Regions from separate parts of the Homo sapiens genome. Here regions 2, 3, 4, 5, 6 and 7 are each linked to region 1. Evidence: promoter capture Hi-C in 16 types of primary human blood cells and fetal thymus (Javierre and others, 2016). All regions are on one chromosome and are shown on one strand. The core of a region is centred on a gene start or on the middle of the fragment in contact, and the rest is flanking DNA. Distances in the headings are between cores, read along the strand shown. Region 1 holds the start of WFDC3 (WAP four-disulfide core domain 3). Region 2 overlaps LOC105372630 (a long non-coding RNA gene). Region 3 overlaps RBPJL (recombination signal binding protein for immunoglobulin kappa J region like). Region 4 overlaps SDC4 (syndecan 4). Region 5 holds the start of SDC4 (syndecan 4). Region 6 overlaps TP53TG5 (TP53 target 5). Region 7 has its middle 13 kb from the start of WFDC2.

Evidence for each region. Contacts are between HindIII fragments. The CHiCAGO score rates a contact against its expected background, and 5 or more counts as called.
Region 2: a fragment that was not itself captured here is called in contact with the fragment with the promoter of WFDC3 in region 1 in 2 of 17 cell types (monocytes and activated CD4 T cells); the score reaches 6.1 in monocytes.
Region 3: a fragment that was not itself captured here is called in contact with the fragment with the promoter of WFDC3 in region 1 in 9 of 17 cell types (erythroblasts, activated CD4 T cells, monocytes and 6 more); the score reaches 9.1 in erythroblasts.
Region 4: a fragment that was not itself captured here is called in contact with the fragment with the promoter of WFDC3 in region 1 in 11 of 17 cell types (monocytes, total CD4 T cells, M0 macrophages and 8 more); the score reaches 7.8 in monocytes.
Region 5: a contact is called between the fragment with the promoter of SDC4 here and the fragment with the promoter of WFDC3 in region 1, in 16 of 17 cell types (M2 macrophages, erythroblasts, M0 macrophages and 13 more). The highest score is 18.7, in M2 macrophages.
Region 6: a contact is called between a fragment that was not itself captured here and the fragment with the promoter of WFDC3 in region 1, in 13 of 17 cell types (M1 macrophages, M2 macrophages, naive CD8 T cells and 10 more). The highest score is 11.2, in M1 macrophages.
Region 7: a contact is called between a fragment that was not itself captured here and the fragment with the promoter of WFDC3 in region 1, in 3 of 17 cell types (M0 macrophages, M1 macrophages and endothelial precursors). The highest score is 5.5, in M0 macrophages.

Annotation. Positions count from the first base shown.
Region 1 is chr20:45,790,491-45,793,310 of GRCh38, forward strand. It overlaps WFDC3 (WAP four-disulfide core domain 3), which reads right to left and starts at 1,393. Exons shown (of 7, transcript NM_080614.2): 1 at 1,342-1,393. It overlaps DNTTIP1 (deoxynucleotidyltransferase terminal interacting protein 1), which reads left to right and starts at 1,464. Exons shown (of 13, transcript NM_052951.3): 1 at 1,464-1,619; 2 at 2,187-2,257. The coding sequence starts at 1,515. RefSeq lists silencers at 1,547-1,816, 2,027-2,166. The HindIII fragment of the contact is 10,060 bases long and covers 1-2,820 here.
Region 2 is chr20:45,289,564-45,292,383 of GRCh38, forward strand. It overlaps LOC105372630 (a long non-coding RNA gene), which reads left to right. Exons shown (of 3, transcript XR_936763.3): 3 at 513-789. Among named protein-coding and RNA genes, the nearest start is that of RBPJL, 16 kb to the right of the region's middle. The HindIII fragment of the contact is 879 bases long and covers 1,014-1,892 here.
Region 3 is chr20:45,309,015-45,311,834 of GRCh38, forward strand. It overlaps RBPJL (recombination signal binding protein for immunoglobulin kappa J region like), which reads left to right. Exons shown (of 12, transcript NM_014276.4): 3 at 553-678; 4 at 2,575-2,645. Among named protein-coding and RNA genes, the nearest start is that of MATN4, 2.1 kb to the left of the region's middle. RefSeq lists a silencer at 2,609-2,658. The HindIII fragment of the contact is 2,617 bases long and covers 147-2,763 here.
Region 4 is chr20:45,326,773-45,329,592 of GRCh38, forward strand. SDC4 (syndecan 4) reads right to left here. Exons shown (of 5, transcript NM_002999.4): 5 at 1-643. The coding sequence ends at 492. Among named protein-coding and RNA genes, the nearest start is that of MATN4, 20 kb to the left of the region's middle. The HindIII fragment of the contact is 1,892 bases long and covers 488-2,379 here.
Region 5 is chr20:45,347,019-45,349,838 of GRCh38, forward strand. It overlaps SDC4 (syndecan 4), which reads right to left and starts at 1,406. Exons shown (of 5, transcript NM_002999.4): 1 at 1,307-1,406. The coding sequence starts at 1,366. The HindIII fragment of the contact is 6,082 bases long and covers 1-2,820 here.
Region 6 is chr20:45,373,206-45,376,025 of GRCh38, forward strand. TP53TG5 (TP53 target 5) reads right to left here. Exons shown (of 5, transcript NM_014477.3): 4 at 1,834-2,347; 5 at 1-806. The coding sequence ends at 702. All of the region lies in intron 3 of SYS1-DBNDD2 (SYS1-DBNDD2 readthrough (NMD candidate)), which reads left to right. It also overlaps a transcript of SYS1 not described here. Among named protein-coding and RNA genes, the nearest start is that of TP53TG5, 3.7 kb to the right of the region's middle. RefSeq lists an enhancer at 138-197. The HindIII fragment of the contact is 5,473 bases long and covers 1-2,820 here.
Region 7 is chr20:45,455,257-45,458,076 of GRCh38, forward strand. No RefSeq gene overlaps it. Among named protein-coding and RNA genes, the nearest start is that of WFDC2, 13 kb to the right of the region's middle. The HindIII fragment of the contact is 2,305 bases long and covers 321-2,625 here.

The DNA of each region.
Region 1 (2,820 bases), core at 143-2,642:
AAGGCGGGCAGATCACCTGAGGTCAGGAGTTTGAGACCAGCCTGGCCAACATGGCGAAACCCTGTCTCTACTAAAAATACAAAAATCAGCTGGGCATGCTGGTGCATGCCTGTAATCCCAGCTACGTGGGAGGCTGAGGCAGGAGAATAGCTTGAACCCAGGAGGCAGAGGTTGCAGTGAGTGGAGATCATGCCACTGCACTCCAGCTTGGGTAACAGAGTGAGACTCTGTCTCAAAAAAAAAAAAAAGAGAGAAAAGAAACTATCAAAAACCTACAGAAAAGCAGTAGTTGAGTTTGTTAAGAACTAATGAAAAGCACCAAACACCTACATCTTTGTCCCTCTAACCCACACAGGCCATTCTTGGACTGTATGAAGTCTAGCTGGCAGAACCCAAGAGAAGTTGCTATGTATGACTCAAATAGTCTGCCCACATATACCTCCTTTATTTCTTTTTTCTCCATTTCTTTTTTTCTTTATCTGTCCTGGTCATGCCTTTGGTTAGCTGTGATACCTAATGGTGTCCACTGGCACTGCTTAGTCCTATGGGCAGGTACAAGGTAAAACCTCCTTAATAGGATCAAAAAGTTTGGAGCCAGGAAGTCGCCCTTATGGTTAGAAGGCTGATGTTGGCTCATGGAGATAATTAACATTTGATGATGACCTCATATGTGCCTAATATGCTTTTTTTTTTTTTTTTTTTTTTTTTTTTGAGACAGAGTCTCCCTCTGTCCCCCAGGCTGGAATGCAGTGGCGCGATCTCGGCATAATTAACATTTGATGATGACCTAACATGTGCCTAATGTGCTTTTTTTTTTTTTTTTTTTGAGACAGTCTCCCTCTGTCGCCCAGGCTGGAGTGCAGTGGCGTGATCTCGGCTCACTGCAACCTCCGCCTCCTGGGTTCAAGAGACTCTCCTGCCTCAGCCTCCCGAGTAGCTGGGATTACAGGTGCCCACCACCACGCCCGGCTAATTTTTATATTTTTAGTAGAGACGGGGTTTCGCCATGTTGGCCAGGCTGGTCTCGAACTCCTGATGGCAAGTGATCCTCCCGCCTCGGCCTCCCAAAGTGCTGGGATTACAGGCGTGAGCCACCGCCCCTGGCCGAGCATATTAAAATCTAGTTTTCAAAAACTGAACTGCAGGCGCCGCTGTACCAAACGCTTCCCTCTGCTCCCCAACCCCAGCCTACAGAAAACTGGTCCCTTCCTCCTACCCCGCAGTCATCCCCAGGCCTTGGCCCAGCGGGAAACATCCCTTGACTGAACCGCCACTGAACACCCACACTGCACAATCGAGGCGCAGCCCTCCCGAGAGGAAGCCCCAACGACCTCCACCTACAAGGCCTCTAAGTGTAACTGTCCTGGGCGAGGCGCGGCGGTTCGGTTCCCATGGTAACCCCGCAGCTCCAGCGTCGCGCTTCCGGGCGGACGAGCAGCGCGCTCCAGTGACGTCACGGCGCCACTTTCCGGCCGGTGACAGAGTCCAGCGGAGTTGTGGGGGCCGGGGGCGCCATGGGAGCCACTGGCGACGCCGAGCAGCCGCGGGGACCTAGCGGGGCCGAGAGGGGCGGCTTGGAGCTGGGGGATGCGGGCGCAGCGGGGCAGCTGGTTCTTACGGTGAGGGCGCCCCCGGTGAGGTCTGGGCTCAGGCCGGGCACGGCCTCGGGGCTCCTGGGACCCTGGCCCGCGGGCGAGAGAACGCGGAGGCTGGAGCTGCAGAGGGGGTTGGCGTTTTCGCAGCCCGACGACCTGGATTTAAATTCTGGTGCCGCCCTCCTAGCTAGGTGACGTGGGCCATCTCTGTCAACCCCCTGAGTCCCAGGATCCTCTTCTATAAAATGGAAATGATTAGTACCTGTCTCATAAAACTTGTTGTGGGATGGGAAGATAAAGGCGGGTACAACGCCCCGGACATCACCTGACACAGAGTTGACCCTCGGTAAATACTGCTTCCCTTCCTCCTGCCGTGCCAGAAGGCAGGGTCGGGACTTTTAAGGCAGGAAACTTCCTCAGTTCCTCTTTTGTGGAGGAGGCCTTACAACTATCGTCCCACCCCAAGGCGGGAGAGATGGTGACGGATCTGAGAAGCAGGGATGTCCAGGTTTAACTTCATACCCACCCTCCACCTCCACCCCACCCCAGTGTCACAGGCCGCAGTGACATTTGTTCCGTTGGTCCCCACAGAACCCTTGGAACATAATGATAAAGCACCGGCAGGTGCAGCGGAGGGGCCGCCGCTCACAGATGACAACAAGGTAAGGCTGGCCCTGCATGGGGCTTATATCCCAGCCACTGGCTTGCATGGCAGATTTGGGATCCCCAGTGCACAAGGCTATGGAGATCTACAGCCGGTAGAAAGAGCACAGGACTGAGGAAGAGGAGACTCCGATTCTGTAACTCTGTGTGATCTTGAACTAGTCAAGTCACTTCCTTCTCTGAACTCACGTACAAAATGGGGAAGGGCACAGGAGATGGGTTGTGGAATAAACAATACCTAAGATCCCTCACATTCACTGGCTCTGTGGTTGAGGGCTCTAAAGAGGTCAGTTAGCATGGAGTTTAAGAGAACAGGCTCTGGAGTCAGACAACTGTGTTCTCATCAACAGACTCTGATGAGCCCGTTTTCTCAACTATAAAGAGGGATTAATAGTATGCATGTCAGGGAAGGGAGAGAGCACAAGGTGGGCCTTTGGGATGCTGATAGTGGTGAAATGGATGTTCACTATAATTACTCATTAAAGTGTATAGACTTTTCTGTATAAGTATTATATTTCATAAAAACACTTTGGGCCGGGCGCGGTGGCTCACGCCTGTAATC
Region 2 (2,820 bases), core at 203-2,702, 500 kb before region 1:
GGTCAGGCTGGTCTTGAACTCCTGACCTTGTGATCCGCCCGCCTCAACCTCCCAAAGTGCTTGGCATTACAGGTGTGAGCCACCATGCCTGGCCTGCTCACAGGTTTTACAAGAGGGGACACTGAGGCAAAAGTGTCCCATGGAGGCTGTGCTGCTGACAAACGGCAGAGCGGCTCCTGCCATTCACCTGCACTGTATCTCGGGCTTTGCTTTGGTCTACTCCATAAACTTCCTGAAAAAGGTTTCTTTGAAAAAGTCCAAATTTGTCCCTAATAACTGAAGGGTAGAAATGTGAAATGGGCCTACTCTGGGATCAAGACCACCTGGGTTCAAACCCTAACTTGGAAGCTCTGGGCCTTGGGCAACTAACTGGCCTCTTTCAAGTTCAGTTTTCCCTCCTGTAGGTTGAGAGGTTTCAACGAGACAACACAGATGAAAGGCACAGCCTGGCCCCCAGCATGCAGGCCAGTGTTTGGTAATTGATAGTTTTCTCTCCTGTTTCACTATCCTAGGTCCAAAGAACCAGAAGAGTAGACAGTCCTTAGAGACAGCAGCTGTGCCGGCTGCAGAAATGGAGAGAGCTGTGAGCTAGAATAGAAGAAGAGAAAGGCCAAAAACCACGGAGAAACAGAGCCAGACAACACAGAGGTGAAATTCAGAAAGCGAGTCCAGCACTTGGCTGAAGTTACAGGCCCTTCCTGCCCTGCCCTTTCCCACCCAAGGCCATGCCTAGTTCATGTTACTAAGTCTAAGAAACAGCTCCAGAAGTGGCATCTCTGCTAACCACTAGGGAAGATATTGTCGTTTTTTAATGATTCAAACTCTCCAGGGAACCAAGAAGGCTGAGGGCGCTGAGTTCTCTCCACACACCTGGGCTCAGGACTCCCCCAATATCTACGTGCTTTATTCCTGATCTTAACAGGCTCTGAAAGCCACATAAACCCGTGCTTGCCTGGGTACCAAAAGACCCGGGCCCGGGGGTCTTTGTTCGGGCTCGGTGCCTTCTCCATCTAAGCTTTCTTGGCAGTGTTACTCTCCTCACACTGTTACTTGGGTTCTCACTTTCTGTTCTTGAGTTAATGGATGTTTGTTTTCCTGAATTCACGGGTCCTTTGTAAGTCTTCTATCCCATAACGTAAGATGGGGGTATAAACAAAGAAGCAAGCGCTAGCTGACCTTATGTGGGGCATGGTTAGGGAACAGGAATTCCCTGTATCCAGCAGGGTTAAGCTGGTAGGAGGAAAGGGAAATGAGAGAAAGGAATCAAGAAGTGAGAAAGGGAACCAGTACCTGTCAACACCAACACACACCTGGTAAGTAGCAGGGCTGGTCTTCAAATCCAGGACTATGGGGCCACTGCATGGGAACAGAAGCAGCTTGTAGACTTCGGTGGTGGGGCTGCCAGAGTCGGGGAATTAAGGGAGGACAGGCTCTGCAGCCCAAGTGCCAGATGCCAACGGCCTGCGAAGGCTCTAGGACCCAGCTCCAAATCAGTGCTCCCGGCGCCATCCAGTGGCCATTAGGGAGATTGCAAGAGAAAAAAGCATGAGAAAAGAAACCCCAGAGAAGCCAGTGCCTGCCAACTCCAGGGAAGAGGAAGGAAGGAGCCTGGCCTTTGCCCTCAGTGCCCCCTATCAGTTGACTACCCTGCTCCAGTTTGACCTCCCCACTAGGCTTCTTCCTGGTGCAACTGATGTTTTCTCTCTGTGTGACCTTGGGCAGGCAACTCTGGCCTCTAGGCCTCAGTTTCCCCAACTGTAAAATGAATGGTAAGGCAAGGTGAGGTCACATGCCAAGTCCATAGGTCTTTAGCTCATCTGATCCTCATGGCCAGGTAAGATGATCATTCCCATCCCCCCATACTCCAGTCCCTCCTGACCACGCATAGTTCAAGCTTCACTCACCTGTAAAGTCTTCCATGGCCTCCTGCGGAAATTCCAGCCACCGTTTAAGGATCACCTCTCCAGGATTTCTCCCTCCTCTCATCTGAAGTTCCCTCTTTCTGCAACAGTCAGGTGGACCTCAGCCCTTCTAGCCCGGAGCTTCCTCAGCTCAAGAGTTTTTCTCAATCATCAGTTTCTCCCTCTTCACCAAGCCTAGCAAGGTGCCCGGCACAGAGTACTTAAGAGCAGCTGCTCTGAAGTCAGTCAGCCTGGCTTCAAGCCCCATGTGGTAGGCAGAATGGCCTTCCCCACAAAGATGTACACATTTTAATCCCCGGCACCTGTGATTTCACCTCACACGACAAAAGGGACTTTGCAGATGTGGTTAAGATAGAGAGCTTGAGGCTGGGCGCGGTGGCTCACGCCTGTAATCCCAACACTTTGGGAGGCTGAGGCAGGCGGATCACCTGAGGTCGGAAGTTCAAGTCCAGCCTGACCAACATGGAGAAACTCTGTTTCTACTAAAAATACAAAAAATTAGCTGGGAGTGGTGGCATACACCTGTAATCCCAGCTACTCAGGAGGCTGAGGCAGGAGAATCGCTTGAACCCAGGAGGCGGAGGTTGCAGTGAGCCGAGATCGCACCATTGCACTCCAGCCTGGGCAACAAGAGCAAAAACTCCATCTCAAAAAAAAAAAAAGATAGCTTGAGATGGGATTATCTTTGATTATCAAGGTCATGCCAATATAAACAGAAGGGTCCTTATAAGACAGAGACGGGAAGGTCAGAGTCAGAGAAAGAGATGTGCTGATGGAAACTGAGTCTGAAGTGATGTAGGGCCATGACCCAAGGAATTCAGGTAGCCTCTAGAAGCTGGAAAAGGCCAGGAAACAAAAGCCTCTAGAAGGAATAAAGCCTTGCCAACACATCTTAGAC
Region 3 (2,820 bases), core at 205-2,704, 480 kb before region 1:
GGCCATCCCCCATCCTGAGGACAAGGTTTTGGGCCCTTTTCTGTTTGCAGGCAGGAGGCTAGAGAGCGCTCCAGGCCAGGAGCCCAGGAAAGGCTCTCCCTTCCCCTCCCTCCTCACCCCCCACCCTGCCTTCCCCAGGGTGGGGAAGCTTCATCTCTACCAATTCCATCAGCCCTAAAATACTCTTCTCCATCCCAAGGCCAGTATAAGTGCAGCCTTTGTGTCACAGCCACGTGTCCCTATGGCCCTGGGCTCCAATGGGCATGATGCCAGACCCACAGAGTGGAACCTGGGTGGTCCCATGGGTTCCATGCAGGCTTCGTTGAGCACCTTGCAGCCTAAATATTTAGCCTACAATTTGCAGCCAAGTCTCCTCCTTACCTAATGCTTCCTCTTCCTGACCCCACAGGGGCAGGATATAGAGCAGCCCCACCCTCCCACTCACTCTAACCCCCTGCTCACTTCATTTTACTCAACCTGAGTGCTTGGACCCTGTGCCACCTTGACCCTTCTCCCTCCTGTGGCTGGTCGACCTGCCTGCCCTACTCCCAGGTCATCCCCAGAGCACACCACCATTCTGAGGGGAGGCGTGCGCAGGTGCCTGCAGCAACAGTGTGAACAGACTGTGCGGATCCTGCATGCCAAGGTGGCCCAGAAATCATACGGAAATGAGAAGCGGTAGGTGCCTCCGCAGCCCCTCCCAGGTCTCTGCAACTGTCAGCCCTATGCACCTCCTCCATCCACCCATTGGGCCTCTTTTAGACGCAGAGCAGGCCTCAGGGCTGAGATCTCAGCTATTGGTCGACCAGGGCCTTGACCCTCAGCCACCATTAGCCCCCACTTTGGTCTATAGTTCTACAGCAGGAGATTCCCTGTGAATCTCCTGTCTCCATTCATTCACTCATTCTCCCATTGATTCACTTATTCATTCATTCAACAACTACTTACTGAGTGTTTGTCATGTATGCACCAGGCTCTGTGGGTACTGCTGGGCACTGGGCATACAGCTGAACAAGACAGAAACAGCCCCTGCTCTGTAGCCCACACTCTCACTCAAGTGTGGAAGAGACAGACAGTAAACTCCCCACAAGTCAGGAAACAAGATACTTGCAGATTATGATGAGCACTAGAAGGAAAACTGAACGAGGCCATTTGACGGAAACTGAAGGCAGGGGGGACATTAGCTAGAAAGGTCAAGGAGGTTGAGAGACCTTTTGGGAGGTAACATTGGAACTGAAACTTGAATGCTGAAATGGAGCCAGACAGGAGAATATCTGGGGAAAGCGTGCTACAATTAGAAGGAACAGAAGGGCCGGGCGCGATGGCTCACACCTGTAATCCCAGCACTTTGGGAGGCCGAGGCGGGCGGATCACCTGAGGTCAGGAGTTCGAGACCAGCCTGGCCAATACAGTGAAACCCCCTCTCTACCAAAAAATACAAAATTAGCTGGGCATGGTGGCGGGCACCTGTAATCCCAGCTGCTCAGGAGGCTGAGGCAGGATAATTGGTTGAACCCGGGAGGCGGAGGTTGCAGTGAGCCGAGATCATGCCACTGCACTCCAGCCTGGCGACAGAGCAAGACTCAGTCTCAAAAAAAAAAAGGGCAACAGAAAATGGGAAGACCTTGAGGCTGTACCAATTAGGCCTGTTTGAGGTACAAAAGAAATGACAGTGGCTGAAATCAGAGGGAGGAGTTGTAGGAAACAAGTCAGAGAGGTAAGCAGGGGTCAGATCTCAGGAGGACTTTGAATTTTAAACCAGTGGAGGATTTTAAGGAGTTAACATGATTTGACTCATGTTTTTAACAAAACACTCTGGCCAGCCTGGTGGCTCATCCCTGTAATCCCAGCACTTCGGCAGACCCAGGTGGGCAGATTGCTTGAGCCCAGAAGTTCCAGACCTGCATGGGCAACATGACAAAACCATGTCTGTACAAAAAACACAAAAATTAGATGGGTGTGGTGGCTTGTGTCTGTAGTCTCACCTACTCAGGAGGCCGAGGTGGGAGGATCAGTTGGGGAGGCAGAAGTTGCAGTGAGCCCAGACAGCCGAGATCAAGTTACTGCATTCCAGCCTGGGCAACAGAGCAAGACCCTGCCTCAAAAAAAAAAAAAAAGAAAAAGAAAAAGAAAGAAACAGGAAGGAAGGAATGAAAGAAAAAAAGAAAGAAAGAGAGAGGAAGGAAGGAAGGAAGGAGCACTCTGGCTGCTGTGCGAAATGGGAAGGAGATAGAAACAGAACTTTCTGGAAATAGACCAGTTTGAAGGCTGATGCTGTGGTCCAGGCAAAAAGTAATGGCGGCTGGGATGAAGGGCGAGGTGGTAAAAAGCCAGTGGATTCTGGATATATTATATTTTGAAGGTGGAGTGGACAGGACCTTCTGATGAGTTGAATGAGGGGTGTAAAAACAATAAGGTTTGGCTATGAATGGGGTTTACAGTCGTGAAAAAGCGTTGCGGGGAGCGGGAGGAGGAAACGAAGGTTCTGCTGGGTTTATGCTACTACCTTGCCGTGCTTACAGGAGAGCCAAGTGGAGATGGATGCACGACTCCAACACTCACTTATCTCCGCAGGTTCTTCTGCCCCCCGCCCTGTGTCTACCTCTCGGGGCCTGGCTGGAGGGTGAAGCCAGGGCAGGATCAAGGTGAGGGCGGAATCAAGGGCTGCCGGCCGCCTGCTCTGTAGGGAGGACCACGAGATTGGGCCCGAGACGGGGCGGTTCGCAGGCGCAGTCTCCCCGCGCCCTCTGGCGGCGAGCGCTAAGCTTGCCTGGCACCTGCGTCCTCCCGAGTCCTTGCAGAGCCAGTTCGCGTCCCTTT
Region 4 (2,820 bases), core at 184-2,683, 460 kb before region 1:
CAAGTACCCATTTACAGAAACATCTCAAGGTGCAGGTGGTTCTAGTTCCTTCCCCCATTTCCTGGCAGAGAGACCGGCTGTGAAAGGAAGGGAGGAAGGCCACTGGGGGAGGACCTCCAGCCAGGACTCCACACAACATCCGTTAGCCCCCTGGCTTCAGAGGAGCTCTGGATGAGGCATGGTCAGTATGGGCTTGAGGGCGGACCTAGATTCTTAACTGGAAGTTTAAGAAGTGATCCAATCCCAGTCTTGCCTTCAGAAAGGCCAAGTTGAATCCATTTTTCTGCCAGGGCAACTGAGGCCCAAAGCTCAAGAAGAACCTGGCAGAACAGTAGAAGACAATGTCTCTTCTGAACACTTCAAAGGTAATCAGAGCTGGAGATACTGACAAGTCAGTATTAGGTTGACCTCACCCTACCCTAATGTCCACCCTTCAAAATCCCCTGGCTTCCCTCCCCGCTAAAGTCCAAGCCAGTGCCCACAAGCAAGCTTCACGCGTAGAACTCATTGGTGGGGGCTTTCTTGTAGATGGGTTTCTTGCCCAGGTCATAGCTGCCTTCATCCTTCTTCTTCATACGGTACATGAGCAGTAGGATCAGGAAGACGGCAAAGAGGATGCCCACGATGCCACCCACAATCAGAGCTGGAGAGGAGGAGAGAGAAGAGGCGGGGGTGAGAGCTCCTCATCAGGACCTAAGGATGAACCCCTCTTTCCCCCACTGTCAGTTCTCTTACAACCAGACATCCTCACCATCACCACTGCCTGTGCCAGGCAAGCTGATGCCTTATTTAAGTTGACCTCATGACCCCAGTTATAAGAAGTGGGTCGTTGGCATTTTAAGTCACTGAAGACCACAGGGCTAGTGGTAAGGCCACTCCTTTTTCTTTTTGAGACGAAGTCTCACTCTGTTGCCCGAGCTGAGTGCAGTGGCGTGATCTCGGCTTACTGCAACCTCCACCTCCCAGGTTCAAGCAATTCTCCTGCCTCAGCCTCCTGAGTAGCTGGGATTATAGGCACGTGCCACCATGCCCGGCTAATTTTTGTATTTTTAGTAGAGATAGGGTTTCACTATGTTGGCCAGGCTGGTCTTGAACTCCTGACCTTGCCCATCTCGGCCTCCCAAAGTGCTGGGATTACAGGCGTGAGCCACCGCACTCGGCCAAGGCCACTATTTTAACCCACATCTGCCTGAATCTAAAGCCTAGGCTCTTTCCAAACACCACGCGGACTCCCCTGCAACAGTCTAGCACTAACTGAACCAGGAACAGGAGAAAACCGTAGGCTATGGAAATCCCTGTAGACATATTTATCCTGCAGTCCTTAGCACAGGGCACTCTCTAGCTCTCCCTGTGTGCATATTTACCTATATAGCCTACACTTCATAGACAGGTATGTACATTCAAAGTGCACACATGCAGAACATACTAATTCCAAACTCTTATGTTACAATTACATACAGAACTCAGTAGCTAAGGCCTGGTTTCCACTCCTACCTCTCCTACTTCCTGGCTGTGTGATTTGGGGCAAGTTTCCTTCATCTCCCTACCGCAAAATGGGAAGAGCCATACCTTTCTCATACATTTGTCCTAAGGATTAAATAAATTAATCCACTCAAAGTGCTTAGAACAATGCCTAGTGCATAGCATATTCTCAAGATTCATTAACTGTAAGGGTTTAAGGTTTATATCTGTGTCCCGAACCCCCTGAATCAGGTGTGCACAACAGGAGGTGCTTAATAAATGATACTTTCAGGCTCCGAGAGGAGAACCTGCCTAGTGTTGGGCAGAGATGGGCTTCTAACAGTGAGTGGGTCTGGCCTGTCCACTCTGCCAGGTGGCCTGAATGACTCATTCCTGTTTGCTAGGGGCAGGGATGCTTCATAGAATCCCTTCTGTGGCAGATTGAGTTCCCTAATTCGGTCTTACTCGGGCTAAGAAGATTAATTTTCCATCCCTGCACACACTACAAATCTATGTACACAATGGGGACAGAGTGGCACAGAGGAGTCAAGCAAGGTTCTTTCTTGGGTAAAATCCTATGAAAAAGCAACAAAAAAGTACCCCCAGGAGGTGCCAGAGCAAGCACATGGAATATCAGGCATCAACCCCATTCTTGTCTCTATCACCTTTCCCTCTGATGACCCCAGTTCCTCCACGAGGCCCTGGGTCTGCGCTGGGATGCCCCACAGGGTCAAGTTTCAAGCACAGGCTCAGAAGCTGACTGTGGTCCTCAGTCCAAATGCCAGGTCTGCCACTTCCAGCTTTGTGACTTCGGATAAGTTCTTTAGACTGAGTTTTGTGTTGTACGGACTCAATCAGGGGCACAGGAATCATACAGCATACAGCAAGCATTTAATAAGGCTCCTGGGTGCTGATTAAAGCTTCTGGAATGGGGGATTCCACCACACCAGCTAACAATATAACTTTTCACATGAGGCTCTTAGGCTTGTATAATTCTCAAATGGAAGATTAAAGAGATAACCTGGCTTCAGTTCTTTTCTTACTATGTGGCCTAAAGCCTGGGCCTCAGTCTCCCCATGTATAAGAAGCAGGTGCTTAGATTAATCAGTGGTTTTCAAATTTTTCTTTAGAAGCAATAGCACCTTTAGTTAATTAGAGCAAAACCTTATGCAAATCCAAAGTCTTATGCAAATCTTTTTACTTCTGAAAGAAAAGTAAAAAGAACTTTGGCTCAGATACCAGGAAGCCAGGGTCAGGGCTGAGGTGGGCCCAGTCATCAGGGGCTGTGCTCCCAGGAACCCTCTTTACAAGAGGCAGGTGAGACCTTCCATCTGTCCTGGATGAAGCCAGGCTCTGTCC
Region 5 (2,820 bases), core at 156-2,655, 440 kb before region 1:
TACACAGTAAGATTGTTGTTGGAATTAAGCTCCTGGATATACCCATTAGAAAGTTATTAGAGCAATGTCTGGCCCCCCGACAAAGGCGCTCCACGTTTGCAATCATCATGGCATGCCTGGAATTGTGCTGGAAGTATTGCCTAGGGTCTCATTCATTCCTCAAGAAGAGCCTGCAGGCAGAATCAACCTTCCGCTAAGTAAATTCAGAGGAACAGGAGCCCCAAGGCTTTCAAAGAAATTAACATTAATGGTTAAACTGCAAGGACTCACTCGCTCTGAAAACTGGGGCTAAAGGGCACAAAGGGGGCACAAAGCTCAGGCTGTGGGGGACAGATTGCCTTCACCAGTAATTCCCATGCCCCCCAACTTCCCAGATGAGATTGCCCCCCTCCTCCTAAGCCGGCTGCGGGCATGGATAGAGCTTCTGCTGGCCCAGGGACAGCTATGACGGAGGCCAGTGGACAGTGAGAAGGAAAGGTTTCCCTGGGCTGATTGAGGCCTTCTCTCCCCCCTACCCCCTTCACCTCACTCAAGGTGGATGCTTCAATTTTCTTATCTGCAATTGAGAAAAAATGAACACACTTCTTGCAGAAAGCAGAGGCTCAGCTCCTGGCTAAGTGTTGAGTCTAAACCATTCCTCTCCTCTGTCCTCGAAAAGAGCAGAGTCCCCAACTTTCTAGAAACCCTAACGCAGTGTCCCCTCTTGCCCCATTCCCTCAGACCCTTGGTGCAGTATTGGGAAGAGATTCAGAAGGGCAGGACTTTGCCCTAAGTCACAAGTCAATGACAGAGCTGGGGCCAGAACTGAGGTTAGGGCTCAGTTCTCCTTGGTGTGTGAAAGAGGGCCTCGCACAACCCTAAAACCCTCCCCCTTCCGAGTACACGCAGCCCCCCGACCCCCAGGGCCATCTCGGATCCTAAAGCTGTCTGCTCTGGGCGCCCCGAGAGCGAGGAGGGGATTCAGCGCTCCAAGCCTGCCCCAGGGTCACCAGGGAAGGGACGAGGGTGTGGGAGTTGAAGAGTTGACACCGGCTTAGTCACTAACGAGCCCGTAGCCCGCGGCGGGGCTGAGGCCCGGGGAGGCGGGAAGAGCAACAGGCGAGGGGCGCACGGCGCGTGAAGCCATCCCGGAGGCTGGCCCGTGACCCCGGAGCAAAGTTTCCAACAAAGTTTCCCGGGCCTCGGTGTCCGGTTGGGGGTAGCGTACCCCCGATCTGCCCCCCCCCATCCCACGCTCCGACGAACAAAGGAGGCACCGGCCTGCGCCCCCGCTTCGCCCCCAGCCCGGGAACCTCCAAGCACCCACCGACTCGGCGACTCCGCCTACGAAGAACAGCAGCAGCGCGAACAGACGGGCGGGGGCCATGGCACCGCGGACTGGAGAAGGCGCGCAGGCTGCGGCGAGTGGCCCCGGGCGGGCGCGCCACCCATCTTATAGGCGGCCTACCGGCCCCGCCCCGGCCCGCCCCCGCCCCGCCGCCCGCACCCCGCCCGGAATTCCCCAGTGGAAGCGAGGCCTGCGGGGCACTGCGCCCGCCCGCGGAGTTGGAAACCCCAAGGGACCCGCCCTGCCCGAGCCCGCCGGCTCCTACTCAACCCCTAGTCCTACCCTCCGGGAGCTCCAACTCCCTTTATTTATTTGACCCACTGCCAGGCAGGTCCCCAGAGATCACTGCGGCTAACCCCATTTTATAGTTGGGGAAACTAAGGCCCAGGGACGGGAAGGACTTCCCTAGGGTGTTGAGTTTAGACCAGCCTTCATACCGGGTGTGCTCCCCTCTGAAGACACAGAACTTCCCAAATGGGATGTGAACCGTGTTAAGACAGGGGACAGCAAACTATTCTGTAAAGGGCTAAATATTTTAGGTTTTGCGGGCCATACGATCCCTGTGGCAACTATTCAAACTCGAGCGTCGTAGCTCAAAAGCAGCCATAAATACTAAAGGAATGAGGGCAGCTAGGTCCTAATAAAACATTATTTATAGACACCGACATTTGAATTTAATATAATTTTCATGTGTCACGAAATATTATTATTCTTTTGACTTTATTCCCAACCATTTAAACATGCAAAAATCGGCTGGGCTCTATGGCTCACGCCTGTAATCCCAGCACTTTGGGAGGCCGAGGAATAGGAGGATCCCTTGAGCCCAGGAATTGGAGACCAGCCTGGGCAACCATAATGAGACCCCCATCTCTACAAAAAGTTTTTAAAGAAATTAACCAGGCATTGTGGTGCACCCCTGTGGCCCAGCTACTCTGGAGGCTGAGGTGGGAGGACTGCTTGAGCCAGAGAGGTGAAAGTTGCAGTGAGCCATGATCGCTCACTGCACTCCAGCCTGGGTGACCGAGTGAGACCCTGTCTCAAAAATAAATAAATAAATAAATAAATAAATAAATAAATAAATAAATGACATTTTATAATAAAAATGCAGGCCGGATGCAGTGAGTCATGCCTGTAATCCCAGCACTTTGGGAGGCTGAGGCGGCGGATCACTTGAGCTCAGGAGTTTGAGACCAGCCTGGCCAACATGCTGAAACCCCGTCTCTACAAAATACAAAAATTATCCAGGCATGGTTGCCTGCGCCTGTAATCCCAACTGCTCTGGAGGCTGAGGCAGGAGAATCGTTTGAACCCGAGGGGCGGAGGTTGCAGTGAACTGAGATCTCCCCACTGCACTCCAGCCTGGGCAACAGAGCAAAACTCCGTCTCAAAAAAATAAAAAATAAAAATGCAAAAACCATTCTTAGCAGTGGGCTGAACAAAAATAGGCGGTGGGCCTCAGCCACTCTGAGACCACTCTGACGCTGGTCTCAGAG
Region 6 (2,820 bases), core at 181-2,680, 420 kb before region 1:
CGACCAGGGCTTGGGGTTGAGGTCTTCAGATTGAGGGTGGACCTGCCATGTCACCCTGGAGCAGTAGAGATGCAGTACCAGCTCCCCCTCCTGATCCGGTGCCTTCTGTGATCTGTGACCAAGGCAGGACACATTTGGAGGCCCAGCTGACATCCACTTTTTGACACCAGCCACAGTGCAATCAGTTTTTGACAATCAATTTTTGACAATCAGGTCGCAATGCACGCGCATGACCTACAGGGTGCTGGGGCTATTCCGCCTGCCTCGTGACTTCTGAGCAGGCTCTCATTTCGCCTTTTCCCTTTCTTGGGAAAATGGAATGGGGAGCAACCAGGAGCCCTTGCTCCTGCCACTTTCTAGCTGAGTGAGCCTGGGCAAGTTACTTGCTGCCTCCGCGCCGCGGTTTCCTCTTGCGAGCTCGCGGGGCGATTGTGAGGCACTTTGCACCCAGGAAGCACACGAGCGCCCTGACTTCACAGAGCGCGCCACTCAGGAGACTAGCTCGCGGAGGTGGGGGAGGGGTGCTGCTCGCTGGCTTCTTTGGTTCTAGACTGACCTTAGGGGCCTCGGGGTGGGGGTGGGGGAAGCCTGAAGTCGCGACACAGGCTCCCTCTACCGAAGGCCTCTTTCCTTCATCCTTCCCAGCCCCAGACAAACAGGCAGAGTAAGCAGTATTCGTCTTAGGTGCCATATGGAAGATCTTATTTGTAGACTCGTGAATTTCGCCACCCATTCCTCCCCTTCAGCTGATGGCGCGATCTCCACCCTCTGCTCGCACCTCTGGCTCTCGTCCAGGTCACATCAACCTGCCAGCAGAAACCTCGGTGTTAGGCGCTAAGACTGTCCCCAGGGGGCGCTGGTCGTTTGGGGAGCGGGCGCAGGGACAAGGGTGCTGTGGTGTCTGGTAGGTTGGAAATGCCTTTGCTAAAAAGGAAAAGCCTCCCTTTAAGCTAGACCCGGTGGGCACTCACCCCCTTCCTTTCGTGGGACTTTCATTCTCCCACGAAAGGGCTGCGGTATTTTCTTCTTTTTTTGCTAAGGAACTTTCTGCTCAGAGTAAATCTTTTTTTCCTTTCTTTTTTTTTAAGACAGGGTCTTGCTCTCTTGCCCAGGCTGGAGTGCAGTGGCGAAGTCACAGCTCACTGCAGCCTCGACTCCTGGGCTTAAGCGATCCTCCGACCTCAGCCTCCTGAGTAGCTGATACTACAAGCGCAAGGCACCACATCTGGCTAATTTTTAAATTTTTTGTAGAGACAGTGTCTCATTATGTTGCCCAGGATGGTCTTGAACTCCTGGCCTCAAGCAGTCTTCCTGCCTCGACCTCCCAAGGTGCTGGGATTACAGGCGTGAGCCACCATGCCTAGCCTGTTCAGAGTAAATCTTATTTGAGGCATGAATCAATCAAACATAAATAGAGAGTTGAATTGATCTTAGAGGGAATGGGATGCAGCAAAGCCCTACTTGACCATCTCCCCCCTCCCACATTTGGAAATCCTTAAACCCACTTATGTAGGCCTCTGACTGTGAGATTCAGAGCCACAGCAGTTTCCACCTCTGCTAAGGCCTTCAGGCAGTGAGATGGCTCACTTCAGTGCCCCTCCTTCCACACATCTCCTAGCTGTATCCTGAGACGCCTCAACCTAGTCACTACCCTTCTGTATGATGTTGGTCTAAGGCTTCCCCCTCTCTGGACATGAAGGCGGAGCCTCCCAGCACTACCAGCCACACACCACTCAAGACTCCAGATCCTGAACCCTGACTCTGGGGCCCAGCTCTGGGCCTGGCTTGGGGCTTGCATCTCACCTAGCCTGGCAGTGTTGTTGTCACACCCACCTTGTATGGATGCCACATAGGCATTTCAAGTGATGCGGAGCAGAAGCGGGTGCAGCGGCGCTTGACCCAACGCAGGGTGGAGGATCTGCACATCACCCTGGGCGCCGGGAGGTGGATTCGTGTGGGCAGCCCCTCAAACCAGATCCACTGGTCGGCTACATCCAGCTGCTTCATGTGCCCCATGGGAGTTCTATTGCGGTAGGGCTTAATGAAGATGACTCGGGGGCCCTCGGTGAGTGGTTGCCTCCCCTGGACTCCAGGGTTCAAGCTATCATCCCTCGATGTCCTTGGAACCTCAGGCTCTATATGCTTTTCTTTCCGTGGCATTGCCGCCAATGACGTTTTCTCCTTGTTCCTCATCCCTGACTGCACCTGGGACTTCCACTCCTTGTACTCTTTTTTCTTAGGGTCCCCTGTGGACTCTAATTTCTTGGACTTGAGTTCCTTCTCGGAGCACCCGATCTCCTGGAACTCTTCATTATTTTGTTTTGTTTTATTGCAGGCACTGTTTTCCCTGGCAGGGAGAGGAAAGGCAGTCAGCACAGCAGGACCGAGGCCCTGGTTCCCGAGACAGTTGCTATGTAGCCAGCTCAGGGGAGCCTGTTAAGAAAGGCTAGAGGGGCCTGCAAAGAAACTTCTCTACTGCCCAGAGGCCTTGTGCTGGTGTGAGGAGGTGTGATGAGCACTAGCAGAGGGATGTGAGAGATTGGGAAGGTGAAAGCCATGACTAGTAGTTAAGGCCCCTAAGAATGAATATTGTCTACATCATCTGCCACTAGATTAGGGTTCTGTCTCTCTGGACTTCAGCTGGGAGGGTGAACAGTCCAGTAGTTTTTCTAAATTGTGCTCCAAGAACCTTAGGGTTCTGAGGAGGTGTCTCAATGTCACCTCCCCTGACCCACTGGGGCAGGATACCTCTCCCCAGCTCATAACAACACAATTGGGGCTTGGAAATAGATATTTGAACAGAGGTTTCACTGCTTTAAT
Region 7 (2,820 bases), core at 223-2,722, 340 kb before region 1:
TTCTCCTGCCTCAGCCTCCCTAGTAGCTGGGACTATAGGCGCCCGCCACCACGCCCGGATAATTTTTTGTATTTTTAGTAGAGACAGGGTTTCACCATGTTAGCCAGGATGGTCTCGATCTCCTGACCTTGTGATCCGCCTGCCTCGGCCTCCCAAAGTGCTGGGATTACAGGCGCGAGCCAAGGAGCTTGGTACTAATTAGAGGGGTTCGGCTTTAGTAGCTATTACCATGTGACTGTTTAGTAGATATTACTGTGTGACCATAAGCAAGTCACTTCACTTTTCTGAGCCAGTTTCCTTCTCCGTAAAATAGGGGAAAAAGCTTGATGCGGTGGCTCATGCCTGTAATCCCAGCACTTTGGGAGGCCAAGGCGGGTGGATCCCTTGAGGCCAGGAGTTCCAGACCAGCGTGACCAACATAGCAAAACCCCATCTCTGCGGGATATCTAGGCAAAGATGTTGAGTAGACACTGATTTATCCATGCACTCGTTCAGCACACGTTTCTTAGAAAGGGTATTCGGTGATTGAAAGTGCAGACCAGACTCCATGGATTCAAATCTGACTCTGCCAATTTACTGGTTGTGTGCGCAAGTCACTTCACTTCTCTGTCATTATTGATGCATCTGTAAAATGGGGTTGGTAATAACAGCTCCTGCCTCTTTGGTTGTTACTGAGGGAGGGGAGGTTAATACACGTATAGACTTTGGAATAGTGCCTGCACTCAGGAAGGACTCAATAGCCATGCTATGATTGAGTGCCGACTGTATGTGCTGGGCACTGTTCTAGGTGCTGGGTCACAAGAGTGAAGGCAGCACACAAGCTCCCCACCCTCCTGGAGCTGACATTTCAGCTGGAGAGAATAATAATTGAGTGAGATAAGTTTCAGGTGGTGATAACTGCTATGAAGAAAAGAACTCAGGGAGGGAGGGATAGCCCTGGGAAAAATACCTAATGTAAATGACGGGTTGATGGGTGTAGTGGGCCAGCAGGGCACATGTATAGCTACGTAATGAGCCTGCACGTTGTGCACACGTACCTTAGAACTTAAAGTATAATAATAAAAAAAAAAAAGAAAATAACTCAGAATACAAGGTGAAGAGGGGCCAGTTTAGGCAGGATGGTTCTGAGTGGAGTGAAGGAAGGAGCCGTGTAGGCCTCTGGTGGATGCAGAAGAAAGAATGAATGCAAAAGTCCTAAGGCAGGAACAAACTCTTCCTGCATGGCAGAAAAAGATAGGCAGGGGCTTGATCACAGCCATGACAAGGTATTTAGATTGTAATTCCATGTACAGTGGAAACCACAGAAGGGCTTGGAACACGAAAGTAACGTGATCTGATTTAATTTTTAAAAGGTCACCAGCTGCCATGAAGAGAACATAACACACCAACAATGGAGAGAGGTCTGGAATGGATAGAGATCTGAGGTTTTTCACCCAGTTGGAAAATGGTACAGCAGGAGTGGCTGACATGGCCCAGGGGTTGTATATAGAATCACAATGATAGGAAAAGGGCAGTTCTGCTCTTGCCTTACCGCGTGATCCTGGAGAGTGTCACCTGTCCCTCAGGTTCTCGTTTACAACAGAAGGTGGCGCCACGTGTGATAATTCAAGCATCCCTTTTAACACTCATGTAATCATGTAATGCAGCCAATAAACACTGCCACAAGGATCTGTTTTACAGTTATGCTCCTTAGAAGCATTTATGAAGCATTTCACACGAATTCTTCTAGTACTTGCTGGGAATGTCCCTGCAGGTCCTGTGCTATGCTGCCTGAACTTGGGATGCCAATTCAGCCACTGTTTTCTCCTCTGTAAGGTGGGGATGACAAAATCTGCTCTGCCCACTTCTCAGGAATGCATGAAGTATGACATTAGAGAAAGCCTGGCGAAGAAGTTTTTGTTTTTTGAGAGGGCAGCATGGAGAAGGGGTTTCTTTCTTTTCTTTTCTTTTCTTTTTTTTAGTTACTTTACATCATGGACTTTTTTTTTTTTTTTTTTTTTTTTTGAGTCAAGAGTCTCGTTCCATCACTCAGGCTGGAGCGCAGTAGCATGATCATAGTTCACTGCAGCCTCGACCTTCTGGGCTCAAGCATCCTCCCACCTCAGCCTCCTGAGTAGCTGAAACTACTGGCACATACTACCATGCCTGGCTAATTTTTAAAAACTTTTTGGAGAGACAAGTTATGTTGCCCAGGCTGGTCTCGAACTCCTGGACTCAAGCGATCCTCCACCTCGGCCCCTTGGCTGATTCTTTTGGAACTTTCTTCCTTGTGTGTAAATTTAGGTGTGTTACCTAAATTGTTACTATTTGATTTTTCAGATTTAAGACTTACCACTATGGAAAACGAGGACTTGGCTTTCTTTTCCACCTGCCTCCATGACTTTTACAAACCCTTTCTATGACTCATCCTCCCAGTGGCGTTATACTATAATGTTAATCCGATCAATATTCGATATTCAGGTTTAAATCCAGGTTCTCATTCCTGGACTTTTCCCCATACCTGTTGAGACGACACTACATACGGCTTCCTTCAAAAACTAGAAGCATCTGGGAAATGGAGAATTCTAGCATTGCTTCTCCTTCTTAGGGAGATGGTGTTATGGATAACAGAGAGTTAATAGCACAAGCTTTGGTGTCAGAAGGACTAGAGTGTAATTCCTGGCTTTGCTGGTCATGCCTGCAAGACTCAAGCCAATTGCTTTCTCTGCCAACTTTGGTTTCTTCACCTATAAAGAGGTGTGAGGTTGTGGCTGGGCACGGTGGCTCATATCTGTAATCCCAGAACTTTGGGAGGTCAAGCCGGGCGGATCACCTAAGGTC